2 separate regions of the Homo sapiens genome follow, and region 1 is linked to region 2. The links are contacts of gene promoters, found by promoter capture Hi-C in human tissues and cell types (Jung and others, 2019). All regions are on one chromosome and are shown on one strand. The core of a region is centred on a gene start or on the middle of the fragment in contact, and the rest is flanking DNA. Distances in the headings are between cores, read along the strand shown. Region 1 overlaps CRAMP1 (cramped chromatin regulator 1). Region 2 holds the start of TMEM204 (transmembrane protein 204).

What was found. The method cuts DNA at HindIII sites, captures the fragments that hold promoters and counts their contacts. A contact is called where the count stands out against the background at its distance.
Region 1: a fragment that was not itself captured here is called in contact with the fragment with the promoter of TMEM204 in region 2 in 4 of the 25 tissues and cell types used here (dorsolateral prefrontal cortex, lymphoblastoid cells, mesenchymal stem cells and 1 more).

The regions. Positions count from the first base shown.
Region 1 is chr16:1,633,350-1,637,865 of GRCh38, reverse strand. It overlaps CRAMP1 (cramped chromatin regulator 1), which reads right to left. Exons shown (of 21, transcript NM_020825.4): 5 at 1-42. Among named protein-coding and RNA genes, the nearest start is that of CRAMP1, 23 kb to the right of the region's middle. The HindIII fragment of the contact is 4,859 bases long and covers 241-4,516 here.
Region 2 is chr16:1,530,967-1,535,144 of GRCh38, reverse strand. TMEM204 (transmembrane protein 204) reads right to left here and starts at 1,479. Exons shown (of 3, transcript NM_024600.6): 1 at 590-1,479. The coding sequence starts at 869. All of the region lies in intron 19 of IFT140 (intraflagellar transport 140), which reads left to right. RefSeq lists enhancers at 746-1,449, 1,450-2,153. The HindIII fragment of the contact is 11,677 bases long and covers 868-4,178 here.

The DNA.
Region 1 (4,516 bases), core at 1,421-3,920, 100 kb before region 2:
CATACAGTTCCTGGGATGACTTCTTCAGGCCTCGAGAGAACACTGAGAAACAGAAGAGAAGGCGGCTTTAGAGAGGGGAACAGGAGGCGCTGCCTGGCTTGGGTGTGAGAGCCACACCAGGCTCACGTGGTTTCTTGGATCTCCTCCCTGTACCTTTGTCATGCAAGCTGTCAACCACAGGGGACACTGGGCAGAGTGTATAGAACACGGTGCTGTGTCTGCGATTTTCAAAATAAAAAGTTAAACCAAAGTGGGGCGTTAGAAATTTACCCCAATAGGCAGAGGAAATGTCCCCTGGAGGAGAAAACACAACACTCAGAACAGCTGGTACTCGTGAAGGTGGCAGATGTGGCCAGCACTAAACCTGTCATCCATCTCTGCACACAGGTGAGGCCAGCAGCCCTGAAACCTGGATGCTGCCTTCCTGCCTCACCTGTGCCCTCCCAGGACAGTGGATCTGCATAGCCCGGGCCCAGGCGGGAGGAGGAGCCAAGGACAGGTGCTCACCCCTGCCTGAGGCCCATTCTCCTTCCTCAGTAAGAGGCCCTGTTTTTTTTTTTTTTCTTTTCTTGGAGACAGGGTCTCACTCTCTCGCCCAGACTGGAGTGCAGTGGCATGATCTCGGCTCACCGCAACCTCTGCCTCCCAGGCTCAAGAGATTCTCCTGCCTCAGCCTCCCAAGTAGCTGAGATTACAGGTGCACACCATTATGGCCTGGCTAATTTTTGTATTTTTAGTAGAGACAGGGTTTCACCATGTGGGCCAGGCTGGTCTCGAACTCCTGACCTCAAATGATCTACCTGTCTCAACCTCCCAAAGTGCTGGGATTACAGGCATGAGCCACCGTGCCCAGCCAAGGCCCCTGTTTTATTTGGGAGGCAAACAGGCTGAGACATGGACAGCTGGTCATGGCTACACCACTGGAAGTAGTGGAGACTTCCAGAAGCCTCCTTAAAGAGCCTGATTTGGGCAGGAGGGTTCCCCTTTTCCCACCCCTCTTTCCTCAAGAGCCACTGCCTGGAGCTGTCACCAAGGACAGCCAAGCACAAGAATGGGAGGCACCTGGGTCCTGCCTGCCCTGGGCGCCAGCCTCTAGGCGTCTCTGCCACGAGACAGTGAATTCTGAGGCGCTTGGGCCACTGCTATTTTGCATTTTGTTACTGTATTACACCAGACCTAATCCTGCTAGGGAAACCAAGTGACAACACAGTCCAGGCCCCTTTGGGTCACTTCACAGAGCAGGGGTGAAGGCCATTTGTCCCCTCTACTCTCACAATTGTCCTCTCTAGTTCTCTCCTCAGAGACCTGTTCTCAAGGCCCTAAGACTGGTAAATGGAGAAGCAGGCTTTCAAGATATGAGGAGGATTCTGGACCATGGGTCTCGGACACGGCTAAGCACAGGCCAACTGCTCTCAAAGGCTCTTCTGAGAGAAAGACCTAAGACCTAAGGGCTCATCAGACTTTCTTTTTTTCTTTCTTTCTTTTTTTTTTTTTGAGACAGAGTTTCGCTCTTGTTGCCCAGGCTGGAGTGCGGTGACGCGATCTCAGCTCACTGCAACCTCCGCCTCCCAGGTTCAAGGGATTCTCCTGCCTCAGCCTCCCAAGTAGCTGGGATTACAGGCATGCGCCACCACGCCCTGCTAATGTTTGTATTTTTAGTAGAGACGGGGTTTCACCACGTTAGTCAGGCTGGTCTCAAACTCTTGACCTCAGGTGATCCGCCCACCTCGGCCTCCCAAAATGTTGGGATTACAGGCGTGAGCCACCACGCCTGGCCTCATCAGACTTTCTTAAAGGAGCCCATGACTCGGAAAGCTTTAAGATCCACTATTCAGTAGACAAGCAAAATGTGGCCATCCACCCAAAGGAAAATAATCCAGCCATACAAAGGACTGGCACACGCTACAACACAGACAAACCCTGAAACCTGACGCTGAGTGAAGGAAACCAGGCACAGAAGGACACATAGCACGTGATCCCATTTCTATGAAACATCCAGAGTAGAACGATCCATAGAGACAGGAGGTAGTAAACTGAGGGCTCCCAGCACCGGGGCACAGGGTTTCCTCCTGGGCAATGGACATATTCTGCAACTAGAGAGTGGCAATGGCTGCATAACCTTGTAAGTACATTAAGAACCACTAAGTTGTATGCTTTAAAAGGGTGAATAATATCCCCATTTCTAAAATATATATTTTAAAGTCCACTATTTGAAATGGCAAAAAGAAAAAAACCCACAACCCAGAAACAAGAAAGTAGCACCAAGAGCAAGACACTGCAGACAAGGGACCCCAGGGGAGGTGGGACCCTGGGACGAAGCAGGGCTTCCGGGAGGTGTCCCTGATGCCCCGCCTGGCCCCACGGCCTCCTAGGTGGCACCTCATGTTTTATTACACACTCAGGGACAGGAACCAAGCTCACCTCATCCAACTTTGAGTTCGTGAAGCAAAATCTCCACTGAGCAATGGACAGCAGCAAGGAAACGCAGATGTGCATGGAAACCACGGGAGATTAGTAAGACGAACACACACGCAAGGCCCCCAAGCTGGGGGCGGAGTCAGTCCCTTCCACGCTCGCTTGCCACCACTCTGTGTCTCACGCCACAAGATGAGTCAGACAAACCCATGATAAAGTGCACACGGTGTGCTCTTCAAAACTCCAAAGCACAGGCCAGGCGTGGTGGCTCACGCCTGTAATCCTTGCACTTTGGGAGGCCGAGGCAGGTGGATTTCCTGAGCTCAGGAGTTCAAGACCAGCTTGGCAACATAGTGAAACCTCATCTCTCCTAAAAAATATAAAATTAGCTGGGTGTGGTGGTGCACACCTGTAATCCCAGCTACTCGGGAGGCTGAGGCATGAGAATCGCTTGAAACTGGGAGATGGAGGTTACAGTGAGCTGAGAGTGCGCCATGGCACTCTAGCCTGGGCAACAGAGCAAGACTCTGGCTCAAAAAACAAAACAAAACAAAACTCCAAAGCACGCCAAAAATACATGTAACGTGAAAAAGTTGCCACTCTGTTTGATGCGCAATGACAGTCCATGGGGCCAGTCACTTCGCAGTGTCCTAGTGGCCTCCAGCCTCATGCTCCTGTTGGGCAAGTCAGCATCGGGTGCCCCAATGCCGCTGCCCGCTGGCACGGAGGCAGACAGCCCTGCTGAAGAGACAGTCAGGGCCATCAGAGAACCCGGGAGAACACGGGAGAACGGTGAGCTCAACAGGAAGAAGGCACATCATGTGGGGTCACACCAAAGATGCACGAACAGGAGACACCAAGGCTGTAGGAGCCTGCTGTGCCAGGTCAGGAAGAGAGGGAAGCACAGGGGCCCACACGGAGAAGGGAAAAGGACCTGTGTTGGGTGTGACCCCCCACCGAGAGGTGTGAGGGAGCATTTACCCTTCACCCTAGATGGACAGAAGGGCCAAAGAGGAATGAGGCCTCCTCGCACCAGCAAGTTTAGGATTAGGAGGTTGTTTAACAGGGAAAGGTGACACAATTAGAAAAGAAATGTTTGCTTTGACTGCCTTCTGAAATTGACATGGGAGAGAGCCTGGGTTGGCAAGTAGAATGTGCATTTGAACCTCAGAAGAGGAGATAAGTCTACGCCAGGAGCCTGAGGGTCCAAAGACGCTTCCCACCCTGCCCGCAGATGGTTCAAGCAAAGCACACTAGACCGAAGCTCCTGGAATCCCATCCCTCTCTCTATACCTCATCTACTAAACAGCTGCCCAGTCCCCTCCGCTGCTGGCCAGCTTCCCCCATAGAGAGCTTTTCAAGACCAGCCACAGTGGATGGCAGATCTGCTCTCATGGACTGACTTTCTTTCTTTTTTTTTTTTTGAGACGGAGTCTTGCTCTGTGGCCAAGCTGGAGTGCAGTGGTGCAATTCTCCTGCCTCAGCCTCCCGAGTAGCTGGGAGTACAGGTGTGCACCACCATGCCCAGCTAATTTTTGTATTTTTAGTAGAGATGCGGTTTCACCATGTTGGCCAGGATGGTCTTGATCTCTTGACCTCGTGATCCGCCCGCCTCTGCCTCCCAAAGTGCTGATTACAGGCATGAGCCACCGCGCGCAGCCTGGACTGTCTTTCAAAAAGGCACTAATGAACGATGCAAAGGACAGACGACACAGGAAGAGGCCGACAATGAAAAGTCGGTGCTGCGTGCCACTCTGGAAGGCACAAGGCCACTCACCACAACCTGACATTAACCACAACAGCCTTGGATGACGGGATCTGACCAGTGCTGAGATTTCAAATAAACAAGTGAGCTGAACATGAGAAGACCAGCACAGGCATCAAATATAGGACAAAACGGAACTGATGTGCTATAAATAGGTGAAGTCAGCAGAAAATCTTACATGAATGGTCACGTGGATACCAAAAGCAAACAAACAAAACCGCATCGGCGGCAGACCCGAATCAAGGGGTACCCCTAATGTGCAGAGACCAACAGCCGTTTCCATGGATCTCCAGAAACGGTGACAATCTCCCAGTGGAGGTTCTTCAGTGGAGAAGC
Region 2 (4,178 bases), core at 230-2,729:
ACAACCGTGAGAACAAAGCCAGAACTCACCCGTGTATTTTTAAACTTCTTGTTTATTTTACTCATGAGTAAAGAAAGAGCATTTTCATTTTTTTTTTATGTTCAGAGACAGGGTCTCTCGCTATGTAGGCTAGGTTCGTCTTGAACTCTTGGCCTCAAGCAGTCCTCCCGCCTCAGCCTCCCAAAGCGCTAGGATTACAGACGTGAACCACTGCGCCCAGCCGTAATAATTATTTTCAACCAAGGAAAAATGCCTTTCCTTGATTTGATTAATGTACCCATCTCTTAACTATGTGTAACGGCAGAGAGGCCCCCCAAATGCCTGAGATGAATTCCTGTGTAAAAGAGCTGGAGGCAGATTCTGTGCTGAGCAGGAGGAGTGTGTGGGGCCACCACTCACCAGGGAGAGGGGGCCTTGGGGCCTGGTTCCCTGGGAGACACAGTGCCCCCTCCTGCCTGCCCAGAGGCCACGCTCAGGGCAGAGCAGGGGCCAGGCCTCCCCACCCGCTCACCAGGTCCGCGCCTAACATCTCCCATGTGCCCTCGAGCCTCGGCCACGCTGAAGGCATCAGGAAAACAATTGGACTTACGTTTGACGGTGCCTCGGGACTCCTGGAAGCCGGCTGCCTCGGAGCCCCAGCCCAGCGCCTCACAGTCATGTGCGTCCACCTGGCCGGCTCTGGCCCCAGGGCTCGGCCCTCCCCGGGTCCTGTCCACCAGCCAGCAGGACCTCCACAGCCCCACGCTGCGCCTGCGCCCATCCTCCAGCGTCTGGCACACCCAGTTGGAGGTGAAGGCCGCCACGTTGTTGAGGATGAGTGAGACCAGGGCCACCAGCACGGCCGCGGCCACGAGTCTCTGCACGGTCATCGCTGACGCCGGTGCCGCCGCTTATCCGGAGAAAGCCAAGTCCCAGTCCGCGGCCGCACGTCCAGGGAGAGCCGACGCTGCTAGGGGTGGCTAGAGGACATCACCACTCATCCTCGGGGCGGCGCGGGCGGAGGCCCATGGGATGGTCCAGGTGTGCCGCCTCTCGGCCCGGCCTTATCCTCCTTCCTGCACCTGGAGCAGGGCCAGGCCTGTGCTGAAGCTGCTCGCCTCGGGGCCCATCCCAGGGAGCAGAGGGTGGGCAGCAGCAAGAACCCAGGGCCAGGAGTGCGCCGTCTTCCCGGGAAGCGGAGGCCGGCCTGTGCCGCGCGTGCCTCTTCTCGCCTGCAGCAGTGGAAAACAGAGTCACTCGGGAGGCCGGCAGCAGTGGGAGTCGAGCCCGCGCCACACTCCTTAGCACCGGCCTGCTGTGAGTGCCAGGCTCCGGGCAGGGTGGCCGGTGTGGAGCGGGTTCACAGCTCCTCTGTGCTGCCTGGGCCCCTGTGTGGATGCCTCCAGGGCAGTTGGCCGGTCCTGGAAAGCAGAGTGGCTGCTGCAGGGACGCCCGTGTGCGCAGAGCTCGCCTTCCCTGGCTCTCAGCAGAGAGGAAATGGTTGTTTTTGAGACTGTTTTTGGTGAGCTGGAAGGCGTAGCCAACCGCAACAAATAGCGGCCCTGCCGCGGCAGCCAGACACCAACAGGATGTGCTTCCTGATGGGAAAGGCCAGGAGACTTCTGAGGCCCTGCTCCAGGCCCACCTCCTGCCGCCCCTCCCCATCTTCCTGTCCCAGAGGAGAGGCCAGGGATGCCGGGTGCGGGACAGATCCCTCGTCTCGCCTGTTGCTTTTAAGCCTGGTGGCCCCCGGGGCCTGGAGGCTGGTACTGAGCGACTATTGCCTGCCCTGGGGACTTCACACCCCCCAGCCATCCAGTTGCCCCCAGGACCATAGGTACCCCCAGGACCATAGGAACCACAAGCCTCCCCCCGCCCGTGTGTTCCAGGCCTGCCCCCGCCACGGGAATGCTGCCCTCAAAAGGGGGGCAGATATCACAGGATTGCTGGGAAGGGGAGAGACCCGTGTGCCTGGAGGGAGCAAGTTCACCCAGACCTGCAGGGCCAGGGACCTGTACTTGGAGGACCTCGGGGCCAGGGACCTGTACTTGGAGGGCCTTGGGGCCAGGGACCTGTACTTGGAGGACCTCGGGGCCAGGGACCTGTACTTGGAGGACCTCGAGGCCAGGTCATTCTTAGGTGGCAAGAAGGGTAAGATTCTGGATGTGCTGGGTGGGGCTCTCAGCGGGGCCTGGGACAGAGCGAATGTCACGTGGGGCCTGGGCCACCTCTGCTATTGATGGGAACGGTCACCCCCCACAGCTGGGGACAGGACTAGGCAGGTCACCTTGTGAGTGGTCAGGCTCTCGGGCAGAGCTTATGCTGCCAGGGAGCTCAGAAGCATCTTCGTCTATTCTGCTCAGAATTATTCTGCCCAGCTGGGCAGACACCACGAGAGGGTCTCCTACTCTGTCCCATCTCCAGAGACCCGAAACCCAGCATGGGATTCCCAGCCTACCCAGGCTCCAAAGCTTCGTGAATGCAGGTGTCCCACATCCGTGCAAACTGTTCATGGGCACACGCCCAAGACAGTGCTGGGACAGAGAGTCCTGTTCCCAGCCTGTGGTAACAGCAGAGCTTTGACCGTTTCCTGTCCTTGCACTGCCCGTGCTTGGGCCCTGGCTCAGGGCGGTCCCGAGAGCTGCCACTTCCTGGGACCAGTCTCCATTCACACGTTGGCATGTGGCTCTGTATATCCACAGGTGAAGCAAGGTTCCCCACACACGCCCTGTGTCTGTTCCAGAAAGGCAGCAGCTCCGTCCTCACCAGCCCGTGGTGCGTGCTGGGTCCTGAGAAGCGTTTCTCCACTGGCTTCCTGAGGGACGTGCCTGGGGGGGATTTTCCCCGGGGATTTGTCGCAGACGTGTCCGTCAGGTTTCTCCTTTCCCCTCTTCCTTGGCTTGTGCCCAGGGAAAAGCTGCTGTTTCTATTTCTGTTCTCAGCCCCCGGAACCTGACGGGGCGTGCGGGGCACAGTGGTGCTGCCGGCCCCCACTCTCCCGGGTGGCTCGGAAGGCCCTGGGGGGATGTCCCCAGCCCTTCCTGCCTGTGCCCTGCTCCTCGGAGGTGGACGGGGGTGCAGTGTCTCAAACACTCAGTGTTCCTAAGCACACGGTGCAGAAGGGGGCCTTGAAAGGGAAGTCTCCCAAAAGTTTCCATGGGGGAAGAATTTATTTCCTCCTTAATTAACTAAACCATTAATCTTTCGGGAGTCTTCAAATGGCTAACTTCCAACAAAAAGCCAATGCTGGGTTTCAGAGCCCAGAGGACACGTTTGATTGTCTCAGCGGCCCGCTCTGGTCCTTTCCTCAGGTTGAGTGGGGAGGAGGCCACGGCCAGACTCCTACACAGCGGCAGCACCCCCAGAAGTCCTGGTTCGCAGAGGCCAGCATCGGCCTCCACTCTCCTGGCACTTCTGGGGTGCTCCAGGTCCCTGTGCCCTCAGCTGTCACGCCGCTTCTAACCCTGCGCGCTATGGCAGGCTGGGCGCGGGAGGGCGGAAGGCCTGGGAGCAGCATGTAAGTTAAGAGCGACCCTCCTGGGAGGATCTGTGGCTCTCGGGGGGTGACTCCCAGTAAGGGGACTCGCAGCTGGGCGGTGGGCTTCCCCCACAGTGCATCACACCCTCCTGCTCTCCCTGTTGCTTGGGGTCTTGGTCACGGTGGAGTCCCACTGCCCCCTCCCACATATGTGCCTGCGGCTCCCATATACCCAGCAGAGCGGGAGCCCTAGCACAGAACAGGGACACGGAGGGAGGGGGCGGCCTCGGCAAGCATGATCGTCAAGCCGCTGTTCGCCAGCCACCCTCATCCTGACACAGAGTGGTCTCGGCAGAGCTTCTGCAGGACCTTTGAAGGCTGCGTCCCCTGCCGCCCATCTGCTTCTTGTTCCAGTGCCTCGGGGCTGATGAAGTGCAGATGTGGGTGACTCCACAGACTGGCCGGGACAACAGGAAATTCTCAAGACTTGGATGGGAACTAAGAGGGTGTTTACTTCTTGGAATTTATGTCAGATGCACAAACCCCAGAACCCCACACCGGAGTGGAGGCTGTCCCGAGAGCCCTGGCCGGCCGTCGCGGAGAGGATGTGGGAATCACGCGGGGCTGGTGCCCTCGAGCAGGAGGCTGGCTGTGGAAGGAGCTTGCAGAGAGCGCCTGGGTCTGGACGCTTCTGGCGGGTCTGTGACCGCCCTTCCCGTGG